Regions from separate parts of the Homo sapiens genome. Here regions 1 and 2 are each linked to region 3. The links are contacts of gene promoters, found by promoter capture Hi-C in blood cells and fetal thymus (Javierre and others, 2016). All regions are on one chromosome and are shown on one strand. The core of a region is centred on a gene start or on the middle of the fragment in contact, and the rest is flanking DNA. Distances in the headings are between cores, read along the strand shown. Region 1 holds the start of CDK13-DT (CDK13 divergent transcript). Region 2 overlaps PDE1C (phosphodiesterase 1C). Region 3 holds the start of DPY19L1 (dpy-19 like C-mannosyltransferase 1).

Region 1 (4,241 bases), core at 1,599-4,098, 4.9 Mb before region 3:
GTTCCTCCAACTTCTTCTCCGCCCAGCTCAGGCCCCCGCCTCCCCCCAGCGCCGTGTCCGAGCTGCTCGGCATCGCCTAGAGCCAGCCGCAGAGCGCGGCGCGGGTGCGGCCTCCTCCCGGGTCAGATCCTGGCCATCTCCCCCGCCGGAAACGGGAGCGGCGGCGGAGGGACACCGAGCACCAGAGCCGGCCGGGAAAAGCGCCACGATAATCCGGGTCGGGACTCGGGTCCCTGGGTTCCAGGTCACAGTGGGGTACGCAGCAGCCTCCGGGCCCCAGGGAAGCAGGAATCCGGGCGGCGGAGCTCCCGATTGCGCTCGTCGTCCTATCCTCGGCAGCGAAAACACCAGATGCGCCGGGCGCTGACCTGCGGGGGAGTCCCGAGTCCTCCAAGTGCCCCCGGGGGTGGGGGAGCGGCCTTGGCCGCGCTCTCGGCTCGGGCAGCGCAACGCGGAAGTACCACCTTCGTCGCCGCTTCACTCCATCGCGCCCTGACGTTGGGTGCAAGTTCAGGGGAGGGGAGTGGGCGAGACAACAACACGCCTCCACCGCCTCCTCCTCGGCGTCGACGTCGTCCTCCTGTGGTGGCGGCGACACACCGCAGGCGCCTCGGAAGTGGCCTGGGCCTGACAACAACTCCCGGCCTAGGGCCTCGCGCACTCTGCGGCCCGCGGGGCTGGGCAGCGGGGCGGGGCGAGGCGGGGGCGACCGGGCTGCGGCTCTCGGTTGGGGCAGCGACTGTGCGGGGCTGGGCGGGGGGCTATTTCCGGGGAGATGGGGGCAGGGGCGTTTCTGAGTCTGTGGCGGTAGGTACGGGCCCTGACTTTCTTCTTCTTTCGCCGCCGCCGCCGCCGCCAGCAGAGGTGGCGGAGCTACCCCTTTCCTCCGCTCCCCCCCTCCACGAGGAGGCTCCTGGTGTGCGCGGCCTGCCCCGGCTCGCTCCTCCCCTTCCCTCTCCGCTCCTCGTCAGGAGGAGGGAGAGCAACGGGACTTGCTGGTTGGGCCCTAACCTCCACAACCCCTCCTTCTCGCCTCGCTCTTTCGGCTTTTCCCCTCAGCCCTGACGTACGACCGGGAGCGCGCCCGCAATTCACGCTCAGAGAAAGCCGAAGATGAGAGGTGGCCGGGGCAAGAGAGGCGGGAACAAAGTTACCGCGCACTGGCGTGCTCGCTCCCGCCAGGGGCCGGCAGGCCGCACCGGAAGTGGCATGATGTAGAAACCGCTCGGCTTCCGGCGAGGGTGGGACTCCGTGTGAAGAAGGGTTAAAGAAAGGAGAGGATTCGTGTGCCGCCCACTGCTGTTGCTTGAGACTCTGCCCGTGGTGGCGCGCCTGTCGTGCTTGTTGCTTGCGTCCAGCGCGCAGTGCCGGTTCCGGCTCTGCAGACGCCGCACTGCCTGCCTGTTGAGCGAAAGGTCACAGTGAGAACAAGTGTTTCTGGAGACTGCGAGGGAAATAATGCTGTTGGTGGCCTTCTGGAGTAGGCAGTTACCCCCCGTGTACCTTCAGTCAAGCCCTGGGAGTGGAACAGCTGCGAAAGGAGAGAAAACACCCCGCAAAACAGGGTGGAGATGGCGTTGGTTTAACTTGTCTCACGTACGCCAAAGTTCGAGGCCCCATTTTTTTTTTTTTTTTTTTTGAGACTGAGTTTCGCTCTCGTTGCCCAGGCTGGAGTGCAATGGTGCGATCTCGGCTCACCGCAACTTCCGCGAGGCCCCTTCTTATCCTAAAAAACACACTTGGGAATCACAGCTCAAGCTTCGGTAACACTATTTACTTTAAAATAAAAATTTTTAAAGCTTTAAATCAATACAGGAAATAAGTGGAATGTTAAAAGGAACTACTGAAAATTCCAAATTCTCAGGAGGCTTGAAATAAAAACATCTTGTGCGAATGAGGACTGCCCTCTTAGTACTTCACCCACTTTCACCTTCATATCTAAACCTTTGGGGTTGCCAAACATAGCCATATAGTGACCTCACATCTCATTTCTTGCCTTAGAATTGCCCTTCAGTTACAGACTAAGCACTCGGGATAATTAGATTAAAATGTAAATGGCTTATTGGCTTTTAGAATGGTTGGAAACGCAAGCTAACCCTGTGCAGTGGCACACGCCTGTAGTCCCAGCTACTCCGGAGGCTGAGGCAGGAGGATCTCTGGAGCTCAAGAGTTCGAGGCTGGAGTGAGCCATGACCGTGCCACAGCACCCCAGCCTGGCCAATCAGCAGGGCGAGGCCCTGCCTCTAATAAAAGAAAAAGCTAAGCCGTCTGTTCAATGACTAAATGTAGTAACCCCTTTGAAAATTCATTTGTTCAGATCATCAGTTGGTTTAGTTCTTAAACACTTGGTATCTATCCATCGTTAATACCTTAGTGTAAATTATTTTAATCAGTTTGACATCACAGTATCACAGACTGGCCTGATTTAAGCTAAGATCAGACTTCACTGACCGAGTACAAAGGATGTTGGTTTGCTGAAGGATAAAGGAGGAGGCAAAGGAATAGGTAATCTTAAAGTCAGAGCATTTCCCAGGAGGGCAGGCCTGGGTGGGCAACACCATGGGATGGGCATTGGGAAACTGAATAGAAAAATAGGGGGCAGGGTTCCTAAAACAAATTTCTGGTTGACAGTATTGTTGAGTGAAGGTCCTGTAGCCAGCCTCCTACCAAAGACTGTTTAGCAAGTGGCTTTTTCAGAAACATGTAGGATCAACTTGTTCCATCGTCCTACGTTAGATAGACTGGAATAACAGAACAAAGAGAGCAAATAAGAGGTTTAGCTTGCAGCTCCCCTCGTGTACAACCAGTTCCACTTGAGAATGTCATCTTCTATCATATATTTTCAAAGAAAACTTGATCCATAGTAAATGGATAATTCCCATGTGTAAGTGTATTAAATGGAGAAGAAGGGAAAAAAAGTAAATGGATAGTTCCCAATCCAGGGTGCAAACAAAAAACATGTACTAAAATATTTTTACTGTGGTTCTACCACCCACGTTTCCTCAAAGATTCTACCTTTGGTGGGGGAGGTTGAATGAACATTTTGAGCTCAAGATACCTGCCCACGTGGTTGGAAACACTAATAACTAATAGGATTCAAACTCCAAAAAATGGGAAGGACCTTTGAATTAGAAGCCGTCTGTTTCTATAAGCCTGTCTGCTTGCCTGAATATTAAAGAGATTTGAAATTCCCATTTACGACTATATTTTTGTTTATTACTGCTTGTGTGTGGGGGGGTGGGGAGTTCGTGTTTTGTTTTGTTTTTGTTTTTGTTTTTTTTGAGACAGAGTTTTGCTCTTGTCGCCTAGGCTGGAGTGCAGGGGTGCAATCTTGGCTTACTGCAACCTCCGCCCCCCAGGTTCAAGCGATTCTCCTGCCTCAGCCTCCCGTGTAGCTGGGATTACAGTTGCCCGCCACCATGCCGAGCTAATTTTTTTGTATTTTTAGTAGAAACGGGGTTTTGTCATGTTGAGCAGGCTGGTCTCAAACTCCTGACCTCAGGTGATCCGCCCGCCTCGGCCTCCCAAAGTGCTGGGATGACAGGCGTGAGCCACTGCACCAGGCCCCAGACTCATCTTTTATGCAGTTCAGAGGCCCACAGTGTTAGCACTTTTTTTTCAGAAGTGCAATATTGCTTCTATGTGCTGGGGAGTGGGAATTCTTGCTGGTTCAGTAAAGCTGAGGGATACGTATTTATAAAACAGTAATGGTGGAGTAAACTTCTAGCTGTCTTCCTAAATGGATTTTCCCTTGATTACCTAAGTAACAGTATCCTGGGTTTGATGGGGGTAAATGTGCCTAGCTAAAAACTACATCTCCCAGTATTCCTTGCAGATAAGACGTGATCATTGGCTCCTGCCAATGAAGTGAAGTGGAAGTTGTTGGGCGAAGCTTATGGAAATGATTCTTAAAAAATGGAAGGTCAGGGCCGGGCCCGGTGGCTCACGCCTATAATTCCAGCACTTTGGGAGGTCGAGGCGGGCAGATCACCTGAAGTCGGGAGTTCAAGACCAGCCATGACCAACATGGAGAAACCCCGTCTCTACTAAAAATGCAAAATTAGCCCAGTGTGGTGGCGCATGCCTGTAATCCCAGCTACTCGGGAGGCTGAGGCAGGAGAATCGCTTGAACCCGGGAGGCAGAGGTTGCAGAGGCTGCGGTGAGCCCAGAGTGCACCATTGCACTCCACCCTGGGCAACGAGAGCGAAACTCCATCTCAAAAAAAAAAAGGAAGGTCAGT
Region 2 (4,522 bases), core at 564-3,063, 3.2 Mb after region 3:
ACCCTGGCCAGAGTAGACTCCCCTGCTCCTCAATTCTTCCACCTAGTGTGTATTAGTCTGTTTTCACACTGCTGATAAAGACATACCCAAGACTGGGTCATTTATAAAGGAAAAGAAGCTTAATGGACTCACAGTTCCACGTGGCTGGGGAGGCTTCACAATCATGGTGGAAGGTGAAAGGCACATCTTACATGGTGGTGGCAAGAAAGAATGAGAACCAAGCAAAAGCGGTTTTTCCTTATGAAGCCACCAGACCTCGTGAGACTTATTCATTACCACAAGAACAGTATGGGGGAAACTGCCCCCATGATTCAATTCTCTTCCACTGGGTTCCTCCCACAACACATGGGAATTATGGGAGGTAAAATTAAAGATGAGATTTTGGTGGGGACACAGCCAAACCATATCACGGTCCATCCCATTTCAGAATTAAGAATGAGAGGGAACCTGAAGAGTTTATTGACTTCTAGCTTAGCTTAGTATTTGTCAAATTCCATTGCAAGTATGTGGTTTGTAGAATATATTACAGCCCCCAATAGTCCTGAATCATGCTTAGATAATCAGTTCTTTATAAATTCATAGGCCAAAGGCATTTAGAAATGGAAATAGTAAACAGAAGTCTGAAATCTAAAACTTGAACTTCATAGAGAAGTTGCAAATACTATAGTTGAGGGCTTGGCAGTTATGCCAAGAGGGAGATCCAGGTGCATGGTTGTGGCAGATGTGAGTTCAGGGTGGGGTATGAAATGTATGTGTGGGCAGTCCATACCCCTTAACATAGATGGAATGGCCTGTGTTTGTCTAACTGGCTGCAGGAACCTCAAGAAAAAAACTTAAATTTGGAAAACATCCTCAATCATTTGGTGAGTGGGATATTCAGCAAATTTTACAAATTGGACATTTAGTGAATGAATCTTTGATGAAGTTGTCTACTTTCAATAATAGTAGCCCCTTCATAATGGGGCTATTAGAAGATTTAATAAAATGATGCATGCAAAGCATTTAGCATACTGCCTGGCACAAATAAAGTAAACAAGAGTAAATCCTGTCCCTCATACACATTCCCTGGAGGCCCAGCTCACTCCAATTATTATTGGGATCTTTTGGCTTCAATAAGTACCAGTATTTGAGTGAGAATGTGTTCTTGGTTTTATGCAGGCTAAAAAGAAAGCTTCCATTAGTAAGACTGGTAAGAAAATATCCAACACTTGAAAATAAGGCTGGGTGAAGAGGCCCCTGACCTTTTCATGTAATACTGGCATATTGTTGAACACACATGCCCAGGGATTATTAAATTATTTTAGATAGGGATGCAGCACTGTTATACTGTAAAGAACCAGAGAGAAAATATTTCTGGCTTTGCCTGTCTCTTTGCAACTATTCAGCTCAGCTGTTGCAGCATGAGAGCAGCCAAGGACAATAGGTAAATGAGTAAGTGTGGCCATGTTTCAAGAAAATGTATTTGCCATAATCGATGGTGGGCACCATTGACCCAGGGGCCTTAATTTGCTGAATGCTACTCTTGAAGAACATGACTGTGTTTAACTTTACTTACTATTTGATTCAAGCCTAGGTACTGTGAAGTTATATGCTAATTTATAGATTTTTGACTGAGAGAGAAGATAACCCCAAACGTTATGGTTTTATTGCCCTGTAGGATATACCCAGTTTTGTCTCTAACTTAGCAAATATATTTTCACGTGTTTCTAAAATACCTGTCAATACCCAGCTCCAGTACTCTTGGAATCCTCTTACTATTCCCTCATAAGTGGGTTAAATACATTTTTGACACGTGTTCTAAGAATAGCATTTTACAACTTTTACAAACTACATTTTGACAAGATCATTTATTAAAATACCATTTCTAGCTCTGTTTTAGAATAATAATAACTGTATTGAGTGATATGCCTTCTAATTTATCCAAAATGCCTATAAGGTAGGTATTAACATACCCATTTTACAGATAGGAAAACTGAAGCACAGAGAAGTTAAATAGCTATTAATTGGTAGAACTTACAGTTAGCTCGGGTTTCTCCTCACTCCACAGCTTAACAGTAAATCTTAACTGCTTCTCTTAGAAGATAAGCACATAACTTAACTACAACTCTGTTTAACAAGAACTTTCAGCCTCAATTTCTGCATCACAATCCAATTTCCAGGACCTAACGTGATTACAAAAGATATTTACACTCAGACACATACACTCTTATGACTATAAAATTATGCTGCACTTTTTCAAAACTTGGCAGACTTAAAGATGTTTATAACAACCCCCTCAGCTGCATACATATACTGTTTGTCATGTTTATTACTTTCAGGTGACTTCAAAGATGGTAAAAATAAGACAGACAAGAAGGATCACTCTAACATCGGAAATGATTCAAAGAAAACAGATGGTAAGAGTATTATTCTCATTACATTTTTCCATAAAATGTGCAGTTTAATGTAAGCTTGTTAGAATCATACCCAAAATTGAAATAGTGGTTGTGAATATATTCTTATATCCTGAAAAAAACCCTTCACTATATTTAAAGGGTACTATTATCCCTTTATCAATAATTTATAAATTATTGCTGTATCTCTTCCCCTTCACCCCACTTTCTCCATCACAAATGTTTTCTATACCCTTTCTTTTCCTACTTGCCATTTTTCATCTTAAACATCATAAAAAGTTTATTTTAGACTTGCTGATCAGACAGCTAGAATGGAGTATCATATACTGCTAATGTATTTATAAGTTTTTTGATGGGGAATCATGCAGCATAAATAAGAAATGTTCCATGTTTTATGTTTTCATGTTTTTTTTCCTTGAACTAGTTCTTATTTTTGTTTAAAACAAAAACAAAAACAGGGGTCTTTATAGTGCTAATGTTGGGAGGCAGCATATATGGTTGTAAAATACAGTTTTGCCAGCAAGAACAAGTCCTAAAGGCAATGACAATGCAAAACGCAAGATTAACAACATTTTACTGTTTCTAAAACCTGAAAGTTCAAATTATATTACCCTTCACACTTTGAACTATAAGATTGAAACACCTGCCCTGGCCTTTTACATAAACTTCATTGTTTCAGCTATCACACAGGTTCATTACTAGTTATCCCCTCATACACAGACATCATATTAAGCTAAAAATTAAAGTTTCCACGGAGTGGTTTTTGAGAGAATCCCAGACTCTCTAAATCATACCTCCCTGGAGACATCATATTTGATGCTAAACTCTTCTTTGAATCATTTGGTTAGAATACCTTTGAAGAACAAATGCTGGGTAACCAGGTGGAAGAGTAAGAATAAATTGGAACGTAATTCTTTGCACATCTATTATAAAGGAAGCAGCCCCTTTAGCTTTCAGCCCTAAGCTGTTATGACATGCTGTCTTTGCTTGCATGCATGAAAACCGTTCTCAAACTTTTTCTAAAAAGACAATGCAAATAATTAACTCCAGGTGTCTTATTACATAATACCTGGGGAACACATACCTGCAATTTTTTTTTTTTTACCAATGTGCTTATGCAAATGGAAATCACTTACCTAATGAGTGTACCCTTCTTGAATAATTGTGACTAAGAAGTAAATTACACAGAACAAAATAGAATTTAGAATGACAGTCTCTGAGCCAGACTCTATTATAGGTAAGGTTTGTTTAAATACCAGAGGCTCTTTGCCAGCCATCAATACCAAATCAAGGCAACCAAAGCCAGAAAATGTACAGTGGAGGAACGCTGTCAACTTCAAACCCAGAACCCAGACACTTTCTCCATCCTGTATCCAACTATTGGCCCACAGCTTCCTGTTAAATTTCTATAGCATAAAAGCCCAGAATAAATCAAGTCCCAAATTTTTCGTATGCCATTTTGAATCTTGTTGCATTTGTATATTGTGGTACAAACATCTGCTATAATGATGTCATGTGGGCATTGTGGATTATATTTTATCACCTTCATAAAGCCTTTTTAACTGCGCCCTTTGTAACTGAATCATACCCAAGTATTTAAAAGAATTAAACAGGTTTTTTTGGGGGGAGGGGGGAAGTGATAAAATAGATTTTATGTTCTATTGTGCAAATAAGTGTAAAGTTTGATTGTTTAATGAGCAGGATTCTGGATCTCATGGGGCAGTAAGCAGACTGCTATAAATAAAAGAGACATTTTTTAATGTCTGTCTCTGTTTCCCTCCATAGCCTGTTCTTCCACTTCCTCAAGTAGGTCCTGGTGTGTCTGTATACTTGGAAGTTTGCACACAAACATAATCATGAACAACTTTGCATTTTATATTCATTGATGGACTAATATGACATCATTACTGCTTTGGTATCAATAGAACTTAGAGCATTGAGCTTCAGTGACTTGCACTATTTTAGTCCAAAACCTTTAACAGGACTAAAGCTAATTCTTGGTGGCAGGAAGTGGAAAGCAATTTGATGAGTCCCACCTATCCTTTTCTTTTTGGTCATTAAAGCTCTCTACTTCAGAAAAATTTAAAAAGGAAATATGTAGATCAGGAGATATATTGATTGTTTTTAAA
Region 3 (4,727 bases), core at 1,375-3,874:
GAAAGCAGGAAACCATTCAGGCACATCAACTGCCCAGAGAGCTGAGAAGCTTGAAGCCCAGCAGGCCTGGCTTAAAGATCACGTGGCTGTTCTTGCTCTCCCGCTCAGAGTGGCATTCTCCCCTTGCTATACCCCAACTTGGAATGTCAACTTCAGGTTCTGGGAGGACAGAAGTTTGCCACTCTCCTTAAACGTCATCCACTACTTTGAACACTTATTGAGCAACTACCAACATCCAGACAATTTGAACATTCACTGAGCAACTACTTGGATATATGTAATTGTTAGATGCTTTACACACATTGTCTTATTTTTTACAAACCTGTGAACTAGATGTTTTTGTTGCCTCCATTTTAAGAATGAAGAAATCCAGACTCAAAGAGGTATAATACCTTGGTCAAGGCTGGTATGGGTCAATGTAGTGGCTGCAAACTGGATCTAAATTGACCGTGTTTAAGAAAAAAACAAACAAAACAAAAAAACCAAAAAACTAATACCTCACACTGCCCCTCTCCGCATGGTTGCCAAGCCGAGAAGGGGAACTGACAAGCACTTGTGGAACTGCATTCATTCACTCACTCATTCAACAAGTGTTTTCCTGGTACAAACGGTACCAGCTTAAGGGAGGCAGTTCCTGAATTCAGGGCCTATCACATAAAGTAGACACACAGCAATCTAATAATTCAAATGTTGAACCTCTTTTTCCATGCGTCTTTCTAATCATTAAAAAAAATCCATCATTTGTATTATTTTTATTTATTTATTTTTTTGAGATGGAGTCTCGCTCTGTCGCCCAGGCTGGAGTGCAGTGGCGTATCTCAGCTCACTGCAACCTCCGCCTCCCGGGTTCAGGCGATTCTTCTGCCTCAGCCTCCCAAGTAGCTGGGACTACAGGCGCCTGCTACCACGCCTGGCTAATTTTTGTATTTTTATTAGAAACAGAGGTTCACCATCTTGGCCAGGCTGGTCTTGAACTCTTGGCCTCGTGATCTGCCCGCCTCGGCCTCCCAGAGTGTTGGGATTACAGGCGTGAGCCACGGTGCCCGGCCAGTTATTCGTATTATCTTTAATAGGCATTGAATTAGCTTTCTTTTAACTGAATACATTCAACATTAATCCCAGAGGTAGCATTGAGTTCAGCTGACACAATGTTTCAGAATCCAAGCCTTCTGCATCCTACTTTCAACCATTATTTTTTAAACCAGTGTATAAAAATAGTTGTTCTTTGCTCCAATAAAGACATTGGAAAATCCAAATTCATAAACTAGACAGGGTATGAGGGAGTATTAATTAGCATGGCAAACACCCTCCCTTTACAAAATAATCCACTGTCTCTTAAAAAGGCTAACAATGAACGAATGCTGGTATTAGTAAAGAAATCACTGGGCAAAGAAACAAAGAGCGAGAAAGCCACGTGAAGTCCCTGGAATTACAATAGAGATAAGCAGAACGATGGGCCTTGATTTACAACATTGGGACTTAAAGACAACTTTTTGGAACAAGCCACTGGGCACGGCCAGGAAAGGAACCTCCCAGTTGTAATCCATGCTGTTGTAAGACTGTGTGCAAAGAATGCAGGGGTGGAGGGAGAATTGGGATCTACCTGGGTTTCTAAATTTTCCCGGGTTTAATTTACTCGTGCATTCTGCTATGTAAAAGAAAACATATTTTCGACTAAAATCTCCTATCTTATCAACGCCAAGTTTTCCTGCTTCCTATTAAGCAACAAGGTTACAGCAAGTGTAACAAACTGAATGTACTTATTGATGATCTTTCCTGCTCCAGCCAATCCATCCTATCACCTTCAGCCTGGCTCCTACCCTGGTCTTCAGTTTACACTTGTGCCTCGTCCCTTATCAGCTCCCCATGAGATTCCAGGCTGCTATTTTAATACTCTGTTACTATCTTAAATCGGGTCGCACCCGTTCTTCTTGTCGGTGAGTGAGGGGCTGCGCTCCAAGTTGCGCGACCACACTGCGGGGAGTAAACGGAGACGGTGACTTGATTGCCACCCGCGCGCTTCACATCGGTGGGGCCGACCAGGCGCCCAGGGCGCACGCACAGCGCCCCTAAGTGGCCGCTCCGGGCGCCTTCTCCCTGCCCCGCCGCGTCTCGCCTGCGCGGGCTCCAAGCGCAGCCTTAACAGGCTCCGAAACTTGAATCAGCGCCCCGATCCCGAGAGGGCTCTTCCTTCGGCCCCATCACTCCCACAATGGAAGGGCGGCCGCCTCCGGAAGGCCGTCCGCCCCCGCGTCCTCGCACCGGCCGAGCCCCGCGCGGGCGCCGAAGAGGTGTGGGTAGCCGGGCGCCAGAGGGGTCGGGCCCCGCCTGCGCCGGAAGTCCGCGCGTGCGCGCTGGCCGGCCTGGAGCGCGCGTCCGGCGCAGAGGGGCGGCGGGGGCGGGGCCGCGGCCGCTCGCAGGGTGTCCCCGCCCCCGCCCCCCGGCGTTCCGCGGTCGCCGTGACAACCGGAGCGGCGGCAACGGCGGCGGGCTAGCAAGTCCGGCGCCGCCTCCCGGCGGTACTGCCAGCCAGGCAGCAGCCGCCCGGCCTCCACGATCTCCCCGCCTCCCGGCCCGCGGGGAGGGACGAGCCCGCCCTCCACCCTCCGCCCGCCCGCCCGCTGGAGAGTGAGCTGCGCCCAGCCGCCCAGCCAGCCCGCCGTTCTCTGGCCGCCGTCCGGGCGCGCGCAGCGAGCGGGCGCGACTATGCCAAGATGGTCCTGCAGGCGCGGAACAAGCACCGGGAGGCGGCTCCCAAGCCGCCCCAGCCACCCCGCGCCTCACAGTCGCCGCTGAGGGGGGCGTCGGACGTCGGCGCCGGGGAGCCGGGGCCCGAGCGCGCGCCCCTGTCCCCGGGGCGCAAGGGCGCCGCGGGCAGGAAGGGGCCCCGCGCCGAGCCCGGCGCGCCGCCCGCCGGGGGCGGCCTTGGGGGGCGCCTGGCCGCCCGGCTGCGCTGGGCGCTGGGCCTGCGGCGCGCGGGGCGCGGCCGGACCTGGACCACGCTCCTGTTAGGTGAGCAGCCCTAGCGCCGGCGCCGCCGGGACGCGGAACTTTGAGGCGCTGGCCCCCTCCCCTCCCCTCCCCTCCCCTTCCTTCCCCTCTCCTCCCGCTTCCGCCGCGCCGAGCCCCGCCAGCCGGACCAGCCAGTTTGCAGCCCTCTCCGACTTTTTCTCTGGGACATTCTTACCTTCTCCTCCCCGCAACTCCCTGGCTCAGCTCTCCTCGCACGCTTCCCACCCGCGCTCTGCCTGGGCTTTAAAAGAATGGCCCGGGGATCAACAGCTGCCCGGCCTGGCCGCGGGCAGCAGGTCTGCGCTAACGAGACTTGAGCGCTGCTGATTGGTACGACTGGCCGCCTTCCCGTTATCTCGGCCTCTGACCGCCAGGATGGTTTGCTTTGGCTTGGAAACGATTCCGTGGAGCTCAAAGCAAACGCACGTTCCATGTCGTAGAGAGTTGCTTAAACTTATAATTAAATTTTAGCGTACTTTTTTCTTCCTGGCCGCAAACGCCGCTGGTGGCACTTTATTTGTGATTCCCCTCGACACGTCACTTTCTAGGTTGTGTTGTGTTTGGGGCGCCCGAGCCTTAATCCTCCCTGCTGCCCTTGGAACCTTTGGTGAGGAGGGCTCTCCTCCCCTCCCTCTGCCATTTACCAAATGGATGATGTGTAATGATGTGCTGAAAAAAAAAAACAAAGTTGACGCATTCGTATGTTTCGGACTGACTTCAGGTTTCCTCTGTTTCCTGGTTGAATTTTGATAAGGCAAGTTGTAGCAGTTTGGATAACAGGCCTAATTTTTCTAAGTCAACTAGTGAAATGCTGTTACATTGCTTTTTTCTATATGCCTCAGTGGGCTTTTCGCTACTGAACTATTTAATTACTGTTGATTTATCCCTTAGTATATTTTCAGATTCCCTTGGTGACTCAAAGTTCCCTTAGCCAGGAGTTGGGGTCCAGTATAAGTCAAGGAATAGGACACAGCAAATTGGCTTCCCCTGAGATCACAGCCACAAATAAAAGCCACTCAGTCATAAAAAGCCAGTCATCTCTGTATGTTTTAATGGGCTCAAGAAGGTTGTTCCTAGGGTACTTTTTTTCCCCCCATTGCCGATTCAAGCCTAGAAAAACCAAGTTTGTTTTTCTTTGTTTGTTTGTTTGTCTGTTTCCAGCACATTTCCCCCCGCCCCCTTTTTTTTTATCTCAGTAGCAAGCTTGAAAAGCTGGCTAGTATGCAGGTTAGAAAAGCTCACCTTGGGGAGGCAGCACGATACAGTGGATGAGGCAGAGCCTTCAGATCTAGTACACAGCGGTTCAGTTTGGTTTAAGTTTCAGGTTCCTTTGTGAGTCTTTCGTTCTCTGCTAGTGGGGGGTTATCACATGGCGAATTTACTCCACAGGGATCCACAGGATCTGTTAAGGATCATAACTAAAAGGTGTGGGTGATACATGGGAAGATACTTTGTGTTTAGAGCACTTGACACATTGTAGTTGTTGTAATAAAAGAAAGTGTGTGATGCTGATTTGAGATCTGATGACAGAATGGAGTTGCATTTTTATTGAATGACTAAACATTAACCACTTTGTAGTAAAATATAGAATGGCATTGCTTCTTCAGGGATGTTACAATAACAAATCTTAGAATAATGATATTTATTGCTATTTTCTGCATATTTTCTTTTTTGATTGCGTTTCCTTTGAATCTTCTTTGGATGGATGCATGACT

The links. Contacts are between HindIII fragments. The CHiCAGO score rates a contact against its expected background, and 5 or more counts as called.
Region 1: a contact is called between a fragment that was not itself captured here and the fragment with the promoter of DPY19L1 in region 3, in 1 of 17 cell types (monocytes). The highest score is 6.4, in monocytes.
Region 2: a contact is called between a fragment that was not itself captured here and the fragment with the promoter of DPY19L1 in region 3, in 1 of 17 cell types (M2 macrophages). The highest score is 5.1, in M2 macrophages.

The regions. Positions count from the first base shown.
Region 1 is chr7:39,946,474-39,950,714 of GRCh38, reverse strand. CDK13-DT (CDK13 divergent transcript) reads left to right here and starts at 1,296. Exons shown (of 1, transcript NR_158201.1): 1 at 1,296-3,194. CDK13 (cyclin dependent kinase 13) reads right to left here and starts at 459. Exons shown (of 14, transcript NM_003718.5): 1 at 1-459. The coding sequence starts at 73. RefSeq lists enhancers at 392-671, 1,852-1,901, 1,091-2,010, 2,032-2,221, 3,671-3,965 and 3 more and a silencer at 672-901. The HindIII fragment of the contact is 2,093 bases long and covers 1,802-3,894 here.
Region 2 is chr7:31,806,905-31,811,426 of GRCh38, reverse strand. It overlaps PDE1C (phosphodiesterase 1C), which reads left to right. Exons shown (of 18, transcript NM_001191057.4): 16 at 2,319-2,396. Among named protein-coding and RNA genes, the nearest start is that of PPP1R17, 120 kb to the right of the region's middle. The HindIII fragment of the contact is 1,279 bases long and covers 1,174-2,452 here.
Region 3 is chr7:35,035,382-35,040,108 of GRCh38, reverse strand. It overlaps DPY19L1 (dpy-19 like C-mannosyltransferase 1), which reads left to right and starts at 2,624. Exons shown (of 22, transcript NM_001366673.1): 1 at 2,624-3,012. The coding sequence starts at 2,715. LOC105375228 (a long non-coding RNA gene) reads right to left here and starts at 3,323. Exons shown (of 3, transcript XR_001745162.3): 1 at 3,188-3,323. RefSeq lists an enhancer at 1,785-2,014 and silencers at 2,065-2,734, 2,765-2,934. The HindIII fragment of the contact is 4,166 bases long and covers 52-4,217 here.